Linked DNA regions of Homo sapiens: region 1 is linked to region 2. Evidence: promoter capture Hi-C in 16 types of primary human blood cells and fetal thymus (Javierre and others, 2016). All regions are on one chromosome and are shown on one strand. The core of a region is centred on a gene start or on the middle of the fragment in contact, and the rest is flanking DNA. Distances in the headings are between cores, read along the strand shown.

Region 1 (5,928 bases), core at 3,279-5,778, 1.7 Mb before region 2:
ATTAAGTCTTTTGCAAGGTGTTCATAGTCTAGCGGTTGGGGACAGACGTGAGGGAAAAATCACAGTTGGAAAAGAGCGTAGCAAATGAAACCATTCAGTTAAATTCAACAAACCCTGCGTGCTTACCATGTGCCAAGCAGATGGCAAGGAGGATAGGACTGGGCAAGGCCTTGCTCCTCACGGACTCCCAAGCAGCTGGCAAATGGTAAAACTACCTGATACTTGTTAAGAGCTTCATGGCAGAAAGAAAGTCAGAAAAAAAGTCATGAAAGGCTATTGGACAGACAAGAGGCTTGATCAGAAAAACACTTTTAACAAATATTGTCCTAGCAACATGAGGAGAAAGTTTGTTGTTCAGATTTTTCATGCTGTCATTATGGAAAGCTTACTACATGTCAGGTTTCTTTCCTAGAGGCTGAGGCTTCCTTGGCTTGCCTCAGTGAATCCCAAACTGGCCTTGCAACTCTCTCTCTTTGCCTCCCCTAGGCTTTCGGTAACAAATCCTCAACTAGGTGATAGGAGATTATCTGATTAAAGTCATTCACACTAAGGCGAGAATGAGGCTTAATCCCTCAAGAGCGTTTGCTTTAACAAAGGATAGCTTGTTAACCCTAATGAACTGCTCATTGGAAGAACTCTGCAGAAGGATCCCTCCTCCTCACCTTCCCAGACTTGCCAACCCCATGTCCTTCCTTTTTATTTGTCTTTCATGAAGCAAAGGAGTAATGAAAGTGTTAAGGACTCTAAGGTCACACATTATCTCCTTGAACTTAAAACAAGAGGTATGTGAGGTAATTATGACCCCATGCTCATAATGAGGAGACTGAAACTAGGGCGGTGGTTCTTAACCCTGACTACATTTTGGATAGGCCGGCTGCAACTCAGACAAATTAAATCAAAATTTCTGGGAGGGGCATCCAAGCGTCTGTATCTTTTTTAAGCCCCTTAGATGATTTCAAAGCGCAGCCAAGGTTGCCAGCTTCTTGCCTAAACTCTGCAAGAAGCTAGAGTTTAGGAAATGGAAATTAACCAGAATAGGTAGCAATCCATTGACCTGTTCCATTTTTTCCTTTGGCAAGTAAAGTTTATTTGGCTCAATAGAAACAGAATTATCTGCAGGAAACTCGATCTCATATAGAATTAGATTTGGGTAGGCTGGTGCCCATATGCATCTAGAAATGAGGGAGTTAGGACTAGCTGTGGATAGCTAAACTGGTGGTGCAAGGTGGTACATTTTGTCATGCACATGCTTGGAAGTGGTGCTTCTTAGGCAACCAAAATATGTTTCACTTTATGCCGGGTAAGCATTAGTGGTCCATAGGATTAAAAACAGATAAGACAAAGAGTTAAGATCACACAAAGGAGAATCCTACATATTCTAAAATGCTTAGTTTGCTGTTTGTTTAAAATTCTATACCCTGTCTCTTGCTAAGAAATTGTGATTATAAGCACCCCCTTGAGAGTGACATCAGAGCCTCTGAGAGATAAAGTGTGTCCTTGGCCACTTCCTTTTGAAGATATACATATCTTCACCAGTTACATACTCATACATGTAATTATGTGTATTCAACAAAAGCTATTCTGTACATTCAATATATTTTATAAATTCGTTCAATAAATTAACATAGTTAAATTATAAACACAAACAAGTTAGCAGAACATACCTCACTTGAAACTCATTTGAAGATAATGCTAGACATCTTAGTTTATGGCCTTCGTGAATGTGCCGTCAGTCCAGTTGACCCTCCTGGCCCCACCTGGATGGATCTGAATGCCCATGTTTCTGCAATGGGCTTAGCAATGAGTAACTGCTGACAGGGCCTGATTCCATCGAGCCCTCCCAGTAATGAATGTGTTTTTAGACAATGTGGAGCATTCTTTTCCTTTTTCAAACTTTTCTGGCCATAGGTCACCAGCTCACCAGTTACTGCTGCATTTTCATTCTAAACCTTATTGCTATCAACTTTCCTATCCAGTCTACAATAGTCACTGAGCACCTGGCATAATTCCAGTCTTTCCTAGAGTCTGAGGCTACATGGTAAGAAAAACTAGACCTGAAGCCTCTTGAAATATGCAGTATAACAAGGACAATGAATATGAAATGGTAAATAATTATGATCAACTAAGTAAATAATATAAATGTGCAAAATTTAGTGAATGAGAAAAATGAGAGTGTGTATCTGGTGAATCTAAACAGATAAACAATTATAATTATTTTATTGCTCTCTCCCTTTTTTATTGAATTCAAATGTCTCACATTATAGTTGAAAGTCTTCACAGTATTTGTACTACATGTGCACATTGAATTCTTCTTCATTTGTAAGGACAGAATTCTATTACTAGTTGCATGAAATAGTGACTATTTGTGTTAAGTGGCAAGGTGTCCATCACATAGCCTCTAAAGGCAGGGTCGGAAGAAATCTCTGACTGATCATTAGTACTATGCTCTTGCTGTTGCAGTCTTTGGTGTTACTGTCATTCACTTCCTGGGCTTAATCTTTTAAGGGTATGATATCTACAGACAAAGCTAGCCAGCTTATCTTTGATAACTTCAAGAAGTACAGCATGTCGGCTTTTGGATTAATATTTGAAAATAAAATAAAAATTTAATTTTATTATCACTTGTTTTGTCAAAAATCAAAGGCTCTTTTAAAATCTTTTTTGGCTGGATGTAAAATGATTTTTTTCTGTTTCTGGATATAAGGTAACCTGTGCTTATTTTGAATGATGTATCAAGTGCCTTTAATAGAAGTTTAACGATTCTGTTCAAGTTACTACTATAAAGATGTTTATGCATAGTTATTCTAGACTAGCAAAAGAGCAGTAATCTATAACTCCCACCCACATACTTACTCCCATGCACAGTGTTTCTTCCTTCTACAGCTTTAAGACTCCCACGCTTCTGCAAAAGCACTTTCCTACTTGTCATTTAGTCTTTACAATTAAGTAAAGAAAAAGTTAATTGTATAAAAGAAGCTGGTTTCTTGGACCTCTCTCTTTATGGAGTTGTACTCTCTAAAGATAGCCTAAATTATAGACTTAGCCAGGACAGTTTTTCCCCTTCGGAGACCTTTGAAGTTTGTTTATTCTTACAAAGCTCTGGAAGGCTCGTCTGAAAGAAGCTGTAAATAATTTGCCAAGGTCCCTAAATACCAAGAAGCCCACGTGGACACTAGAAGGTGTCAACTTTTCTTGATTACTCTTGAACTTGTGGGAAAGGGAATGTTTGGCACCAATATCAGATTCATAGAAGGCAGCCAAAATTAATTGTTAGAAAGAAGGTATGCTTAGACGATATGTGGCATAACTTTGGGCATTTTCCTTCCCATGATGAAAGAAGCAGCCGATGAAGTAAATCTGTTTTGTTTATGACTAGATTACTCAGTGACTAAAAGGAAAACACTGTCTACTTTGGGGTTATTGGCAACAGATATATACATACCAAGTATGACACATGGGCTAGTTTCCACTGGCAGTAGTTATTGATGTTGCAACCTTGGTCTTTGCTGCAACCTTGCCCTGCTGCCTTTGTTGTTGGCTGCTCTTGGCAACAGGGCATACCCACCTCCCCCTGACAACCAACTTGGTGCAATGGCCTGCACATGACCCACACACTTTTTAGAAGAATCAGGGCAGGAAAAGATTAAGTGTAATTTCCCATGGCCTTGGCTATTAGACATAAAGACAGGCTTTAGAATCTGTTATTAGGCATAAGATTTTGGACAATTTTTTCCTAGTCTCAGGTTCCTGCAAACTTAAAATGTCTACCTTGTGGAATTATGATAATAAATGACTTCATGAGAATTATCCTAACATTGATCAGGCCTTTGATAAATTACAGCTATTTTCATTATTTAAAATAGTAATTAGAAATTTTAAAATACAGAATATGTTTTTTAAAAAATAAGCTCTTGTTAAGCTTCAAGTCTCTTCAAAATATGAGGATTCAAATCAAATTACAAATTTTAAGAAATATATAGCTATTTTCTACAAGATGGTATAGGTATACAGAGATACCTTTACAGTTTTTATATTAGGTAGGATGTAATTAAAAAGGAGCCCAAGATGTTTCCTGAAATGATTAACAGGAACTTTAGAAACATAACTATTGATTGGTCAGTGCACAGGTTTCTTTGGTCGAACTTTTCTCACCCACTTTACAAGCAAAAACATGAGAAAGACAAGTCAAATGAAGCCAAGCAAATGGTATCTACCACATTAACGAAGAGTATAAGATGCACAGTTGCATGAAAACCACTTCCTTTAGCACTATATTTCAAAAATTTTTTTTTACTCCGCCAGAGCTGTCGCCACAGGAAGGAAAATTTAGTTGTCTTCTTGCTTATTTAAGGAACACAAGTCAAGAGATTATTCCAGGCATTACTTCGTGTTTTTAAGCTCTTACTCCTACCTCCCTGAAAAATGTGTCTCCTGACTTCATCAGAACAAACACACTCAGAATTTTAAGAGGAGAAAATAATGATTATGTGTTGCTAAGTACTATTTTAGTAACAAATGCTTGGGCCACTAAAATTATGACATCACCCACAGAAAGAATAACATTTACACTTTTGAGAGATTTTTTTTTTTTCCTAACATGATGGGTCACCAATGAGAGGAGGAAAGCCAAATAAAGGCACAAGGAGAGGCCTCTTGGCTCTGGAGAAGGCATCCTTAGCATCCTCTTCTGAAGGGTGATCATAAGCCCCAAGTTAATTAAATAGGCCCAATGTCTGCCTGCTCTTTCTGTATTCCCTTCCTGAATCTAGTTCATGTCAACAAATGTGTACTATTATTGTAGAAAATCGAATGCTCTCATACTTTTAATAGGTTTGCTTCTTGGTTAATATGCCCAGGTCAGGAAGTGGCTTATATTTCAGGAGTGCTCTCTAATACTTATTGCAGATATTCAAGCATTTATTCTCTCACACACACGCACTTAAAAACCGCACACTACCTCACACTCTGCAATAATCCGATAGTATGGTGGTCATCATACCCACATATATACATGATAAGATAGAATGCATTGCTTAAATAGCACATAAGTCATCTATAATCCTCCACACCCTGTAATACCAGTAGCACAATGGTTTTCTATTTGGAGGTTGCCAGGAGCACTCAAAAGTAAGCTTCTGGCTCCTACAACAACACATCCAACTGCCTTGGGGACAACATGATTGTCATCCTTCTAGTACACACTCAGTCCAAGGCCAGGTAATGTTTTTTATGGGCGGCTTTTAACCTGAACCAGAAATAGAAGAATCTATACTTGTTGTTATTAACTTCTTAAGTATGAGGGAAGGCCATTTTTTCCATCATTCCTAACAAATAAATATTGAGCTTGTTTACTCAATTTAAAAAGAGTCTTTTCAGTAAGCTATTCTGTATTCTTTCTCCAAATCACAGCCCTCAACCTCCTACCCCTTAAAGGAAGCAGTGTCCAACTAACAGAGATTTAAAATGTAGTGATATGATTCATTTAGATCTCTTAGGATAATAAAAATAAATCATAGGGAATATAATTACCATGGAAAATGGCAGAGTAATTTACGTCTACTTTTAAGGGGAGCGGGTTGATGTTGCCAGGGATTGCTATCCCTAATCCCAATAGCTACTGGGATTTGGGAACAATAAACAAGGAAACATCTGTGGTCTCTGGAGGCTAAAATATAGTTGTTTCTGTAGTCTTTTCTGCTTCATCCATGCAGAAACTAGGTTGCATGATGACACCATTATCAGAAATCAGTGTACATATCTTCAAATGGCCAAGATTAGAGTCAATTATTCCATGACAATTTTTGCTGAAAACATTGAGTTTACAAATTTAAATAATACCTGAGCCCCTTTCACTTTTATCCAGGTAAACTTGGCTTATCTAAAATTCACCTAAATGTAATAATTTATCTCCTATGAAACTTTTACCTA
Region 2 (5,772 bases), core at 192-2,691:
CCCGGCCTTGTTTGTTTTTAATCAGGAGAAATTGCAATGTTTTAGTTTTCACTCAAAAAAATAAAGTCTCACCATCTTATTTTCTAACTCAAACATCACCTTAAGCCGATTTTTAAAAATTATTTTAAAGGTTTGCTTGGTCTTCAGTGAGTAAGTAAAAAGCTAGTTGGAGAAGTAGAAAATCAAAACTTTAATATACTAATACATGAAGTTCTTAAAAGAAGGTTTTAAATGAATGATGTCCAACACCAACATTCCAATGTATCCGGACTCTGATGATTTACTAATCTGGCTATTCTGGGATGGTCGGTTTATCCTGAGAAAATGTCATCTTTGGAGGTGTAAGATTCTCATTTCTATAATTTTACAATTTTGGTGTTTTTTCCCCCATCTTCAGAGCCTTTCAATCCCCACCCGCAACCCCACTTACCGTATAAAATGCATCATTGCCCTGCTTCTAACGATTAGGTTAAAAACAAAATCATTTAAAGAACACTGTCGAAAACTGCCGAGATCTGCTGGATACACAAGACAACTGAAAGGTAGAAAGAGATGCCAGAGCAGGCAACTCCTGGGAGGCAGGTGAGGAGGGAATGCGAGCGAACTGTCAATGTTTAGAAGAACAACGTGCTCCTTTTCTGACACTTTGGAAATGGCAAACAGAACCAGCATCCCCAGACCTTCCTTCCACCCCCTCCAGCTGTCAGACGCCCCATTCGCAAACTCAACAGTCCCCCCAGCAAGTTCAGGAGAAAAACGGCGTCTGTCACTCCCGGATCCTCTCCAATGACCCGAATTAACCTTCATCTAGCCAGGCAGCGAAGCCGCCCGGCATTACCCCGGAAAAGAGGGCAGAAAAAGTGAACTGACAAACGGTTGGCGCTCCTCCGCCGACGCGGCGCCTACTCATCCCCATCTCCGCAGGCAGCCGGGGTGGCTATGGCGTGACGCCGCCAACCAGTCCTCCGTACTAACAGGTGTCCCCCAGTCTTCGCCTTTCAGCGTTTAACCTTCTCGCGCCCTCCTTCCCCATTCCCACTGTTCTAGGAGGCAAAAAACAAGTGAGCAGTTATACCTGGAAAAGGAGGGCGGCCTGACCGCGCTAAGGGGCCGCGAGAAGGCTGGCTGTGGAAGGGCGCCGGCACAGTTCTACGAGGCCAGCGAAGATGCGGCCATTTAGGCCGCGAAGCCGGGGCCTCGCGTAGCCAATGGCGCCGAGCAGAGGCGCGGCGGGGTGGCCGGGGCCCAGTGCACATACTCACCAAATCTGGAACTTGAGCAGCGGCCCCGTGGCGTACTGCATCTTTAATCTCTTGCTGGGCACGCCGCCCAGATTGGCCGAGGCCTCGCTCCGGACCATCGCAGACGCCGCCACTAGGAGAAGCAGCAGAAGCCTCATCTTAAATGAGCCAGCCACTTCGGCCGCCCTCAGACAGACTGCAGCCAGCCCAAAGCCCAGGAGCGAGCTGCTCCCCACTGCGCAGGCGCGATCAGCCAAGGTCGGGGGAGGGGAGCAGTAATGCGCCTGCGCGGCCCGGCGCCCGCGCACACTCCTGGAGTGAAGAGCCGACCTGTTTCACTGTCCTGACTCACCACCATCTTGGTAGTGTGCAAGACTCTGGGACGGCATGAGAAAGGCAGAAAGGGAGCAAAGGAGCTGGTGGGGTGTCACAGGGCCTATGTATGAGGCAGATGTGAGTTCTGCATCCAGTTTTGCAATTTATCCATTTACCTGCCTGAGACTTGGAAACACCTACTTTATAGTCCTGATTCAAGTGTTGGCGGATGGAAGGGAGGAGACTCCTGACCCTCAGAATGGTAATGCTGAAATTTTTTGGGTGCGCTGTTATGGCCTTTTCTTTGATCTTACAATATTGCTTTCTCCTGAAAGAATATTAAACATAAGTTTTAGGAAACCTTTGGACAATTCCAAACATATCCAAAAATAGAATAACTACCTTAGCAAGCTTTAACAGTTACTATACATTTTGACAATCTTGATTTGTCTATATCTCTAAACACTTCTTCCCTTCCTAGGCATATTTGGAAGCAAATCTCAGACATCATATCATTTCATCTGTATATATATATTTTTAAACACGGTCTCACTGTCACCCAGGCTGGAGTTCAGTGGCGTGATCATAGCTTACTGCAGCCTCACACCCCTGGGCTCAAGCAGTCCTGCCTCAGCTTCCCAAGTGGTTAGGAATACAGGCACAGGCAACTATGCCTGGCTTACAATTATTTAAGCACATATTTCTAAAAAAGAATTATTATTAAAAAGAAAAAAAATTGACCACAGTGTTTCACATGTCCGTGTGAAGAGACTACCAAACAGGCTTTGTGTGAGCAACACAGCTGTTTATTTCACCTGGGTGCAAGCGGGCCGAGTCCGAAAAGGGAGTCAGCAAAGGGTGGTGGGATTATCATTGGTTCTTATAGGTTTTGGGATAGGCGGTGGAGTTAAGAGCAATATTTTGGGGGCAGGGGTTGGATCTCACAAAGTACATTCTCAAGGGTGGGGAGAATTACAAAGAACCTTCTTAAGGGTGGGGGAGATTACTGATCAACAAAGTACATTGATCAGTTAGGGTGGGGCAGAAACAAATCACAATGGTGGAATGTTATCAGTTAAGGCTATTTTCACTTCTGTGGATCTTCAGTTGCTTCAGGCCATCTGGATGTATATGTGCAGGTCACTGGGGATATGATGGCTTAGCTTAGGCTCAGAGGCCTGACATTCCTGTCTTCTTATATTAATAAGAAAAATAAAACAAAATAGTGGTAAAGTGTTGGGGCAGCGAAAATTTTTGGGGGTGGTATGGAGAGATAATAGGCGATGTTTCTCAGGGCTGCTTCGAGCGAGATTAGGGGCGGCGTGGGAACCCACAGTGGGAGAGATTCAACTGAAGAAAGATTTGGGGGTAAGGGGTGATATTGTGGGGTTGTTAGAAGGAGCATTTGTCGTATAGAATTATTGGAGATGGCCTGGATGCAGTTTTGTATGAATTGAGAAACTAAATGAAAGACACAAGGTCCGAATAAAAGAAGGAGAAAAATAGGTATTAAAGGACTAAGAATTGGGAGTACCCAGGACATCCAATTAGAGAGTGTCCAAGGGGGTTCAACGTTGTTGTCTGCTTGGTTGGAGAGTTTTTGGGCTCTATCTCTATCCTTAAGTTTTTTTATGTTGTCATATACCAGGCCAGATTGATTTAGGTAAAAACAACACTCTTCATTTAAAAATATACAAAGTCCTCCTTTTTCAGCAGTGAGTAAGTCGAGGCTTCAGTGATTTTCAAGGAAAGAGAGGAGGTGGGAAGGCCAAACTGAGGAATTATGTCTGACAGAAGGGAAGAAATGACCGCGGTGGCCTTCTTAGACCCTGTGGGAAAGGCCTCTACCCACCCAGTGAAATGTCTACCCAAACCAAGAGGTATTTTAGTTTCCTGACTTGAAGCATGTGAGTAAAGTCAATTTGCCAGTCCTCGGCGGGGCAAATCCCCGAGCTTGATGTGTAGGGAAGGGAGGGGGCCTGAACAATCCCTGCAGGGTAGTAGAATAGCAGATGGAACATTGAGAAGTGATTTCCTTGAGGATAGATTTCCACGATGGAAAGGAAATGAGAGGTTCTAAGAGACGGGTTAGCAGCTTGTAACCTACATGGAAGTGGTTATGAAATGACGACAGAATAGAATGGGCCTGTGAGGCTGGAAGGAGATATTTTCCTTGGTCCAAGAACCATTTGCCTTGTGTGGGAAGAGATTGATAGGCGGAAGTTTCAGTGGGGGAGTAGGTGGGAGTGACCAGATGAGAAGGAGAAAAACTGCCATGAAGGATAGAAGTTAGAATGCTAGCTGCTTTTTAGCTACCTTATCAGCATAAGCGTTGCCTTGAGCAGTGAGATCTGATGCCTTGTGATGGCTGTTGCAGTGAGACTCCACTTCCTTTGGAAGTACGGCCTTGCTCAGAGGCCTGACACACAGTATCATTGTCTCACCTTTAAAAAATAGTAATTGCGTAATATTAGTCAGTGTTCAAATATCCTGTGGTCTCAATAACTACTTATTTTCCTACTGTTCATTTGTTAAAATCAGAATCAAAATGAAATTTATACATTGTCATTGGTTGATGTGTCTTTTAGGACAAGTCAAAGACTTTTAAGACCAGGAACACACCAGTAATTGAAAAATTTTGTTTATCATTAATTGCAGCAAGAGGGATGCTATGGTTTGAATATGTCCCCCAAAAAGCATATGTTGGAAACTTAATGCCCAATGTAACAGTGTTGGGAGATGGGGCCTAATGGGAGGGCTCCACCCTCATGAATGGATTAATGCCAATTATGAAAGGGCTTAAGGCTTCGATTTCTATCTGTTGCTCTTTCACTCTTGCACTCTCCTGCACATTTACCTTCCTCCATTGGATAACAACACAAAGCCCCCATAAGATGTGGAGCCCTTGATCTTGGAATTTTCAGCTTCCAGAACTATAAGAAATAAATCTCTGTCTTTATTAATTACCCAATCTCAGTTATTCTGTTATAGCAGCCCAAGATGGACTAAGACGGGGGAACGCACACCATGGGAAACCATGAGAAGACTCAATTAGGAGGTGTTAGGATCTGGGGCTTGATTGGATGATTTGGAAAATGGAGCTGGGGTGCTGAGCGGTTCTATTATCAGAGATGTTCAAACCAGAGTGACTTCATCTTGAGTAGGGACTGAGTAAAATGAGTTGGAGACCTGCTGGGCTGCATTCCCAGGAGGTTAGGCATTCTTAGTCACAGGATGAGATAGGAGGTCAGCACAAGATTCAAGTCACAAAGACCCAGCTGATAAAACAGGATACGGTAAAGAAGCCAAAACCAAGATAGAGACAAAAGTGACTTCTTGCTAATTATAATATATTCACATGCTATCTCCTTTACTGCTTATTGTATGCTAATTTAACACACTAGCATGCTAAAGGACACCCCCACCAGTGCAGTGAAAGTTTACAAATGCCATGGCAACACCTGGAAACTACCCTATATGGTTGAAAAGAAAGAGGAACTCTTTATTCTGGGGAATTCTTGCCCTTTTCCCCAGAAAACTCATGAATAATTCACCCCTTGTTTGGCATATAATCAAGAAATAACCATAAAAATAGCCAACCAGCAGCCCTCAGGGCTGCTCTGTATATGCAGTAGCCATTCTTTTATTCCTTTACTTTCTTAATAAACTTGCTTTCACTTTACTCCATGGACTTGCCCCCAGTCCTTTCTTGAGTGAGATCCAAAAATTGACTCTTGGGGTCTGGATCAGAACCCCTTTCCAGTAAAATTAGATTTTTTTTTTTGAGACATAGTCTCACTCTGCCTAGGAGACCAGCCTGGGCAACATGATGAAACCCTGCCTCTACAAAAAATTTTAAAATTAGCTAGGCATGGTGGCACACACCTATCGCCCCAGTTACTCAGGAGACTGCGGTGGGAGGATCACCTGAGCCAGGAAGGTCGAGTCTGCAGTGAGCCCTGATGGTGCCACTGCACTCCAGCCTGAGTGACAGAGTGAGACCTCGTCTCAAAAAAAATAAGATAATGGGTGATACAGCTAGCCATAAAATGTCTTTAAACAATGGGGTTGGTGCGACTGAAGTTCCATACTCCTGTTTCCCTGGACCTGATAAATTTTACATACATTGCCAGGCACAGTGGCTCAGGCCTGTAATCCCAGTACTTGGGAGGCCGAGGCGCACGCATCACAAGGTCAGGAAATCGAGACCATCCAG

What was found. The method cuts DNA at HindIII sites, captures the fragments that hold promoters and counts their contacts. A CHiCAGO score of 5 or more calls a contact.
Region 1: a contact is called between a fragment that was not itself captured here and the fragment with the promoter of SELENOT in region 2, in 1 of 17 cell types (fetal thymus). The highest score is 5.3, in fetal thymus.

The regions. Positions count from the first base shown.
Region 1 is chr3:152,256,161-152,262,088 of GRCh38, reverse strand. It overlaps a transcript of MBNL1 not described here. Among named protein-coding and RNA genes, the nearest start is that of MBNL1, 9.8 kb to the left of the region's middle. RefSeq lists an enhancer at 291-980. The HindIII fragment of the contact is 1,213 bases long and covers 3,922-5,134 here.
Region 2 is chr3:150,598,990-150,604,761 of GRCh38, reverse strand. SELENOT (selenoprotein T) reads right to left here and starts at 1,441. Exons shown (of 6, transcript NM_016275.5): 1 at 1,263-1,441. The coding sequence starts at 1,399. LOC124900547 (a long non-coding RNA gene) reads left to right here and starts at 1,579. Exons shown (of 2, transcript XR_007096128.1): 1 at 1,579-1,818. RefSeq lists enhancers at 983-1,282, 557-1,330, 1,303-1,452, 1,573-1,652, 4,661-4,870 and 2 more. The HindIII fragment of the contact is 3,294 bases long and covers 1-1,969 here.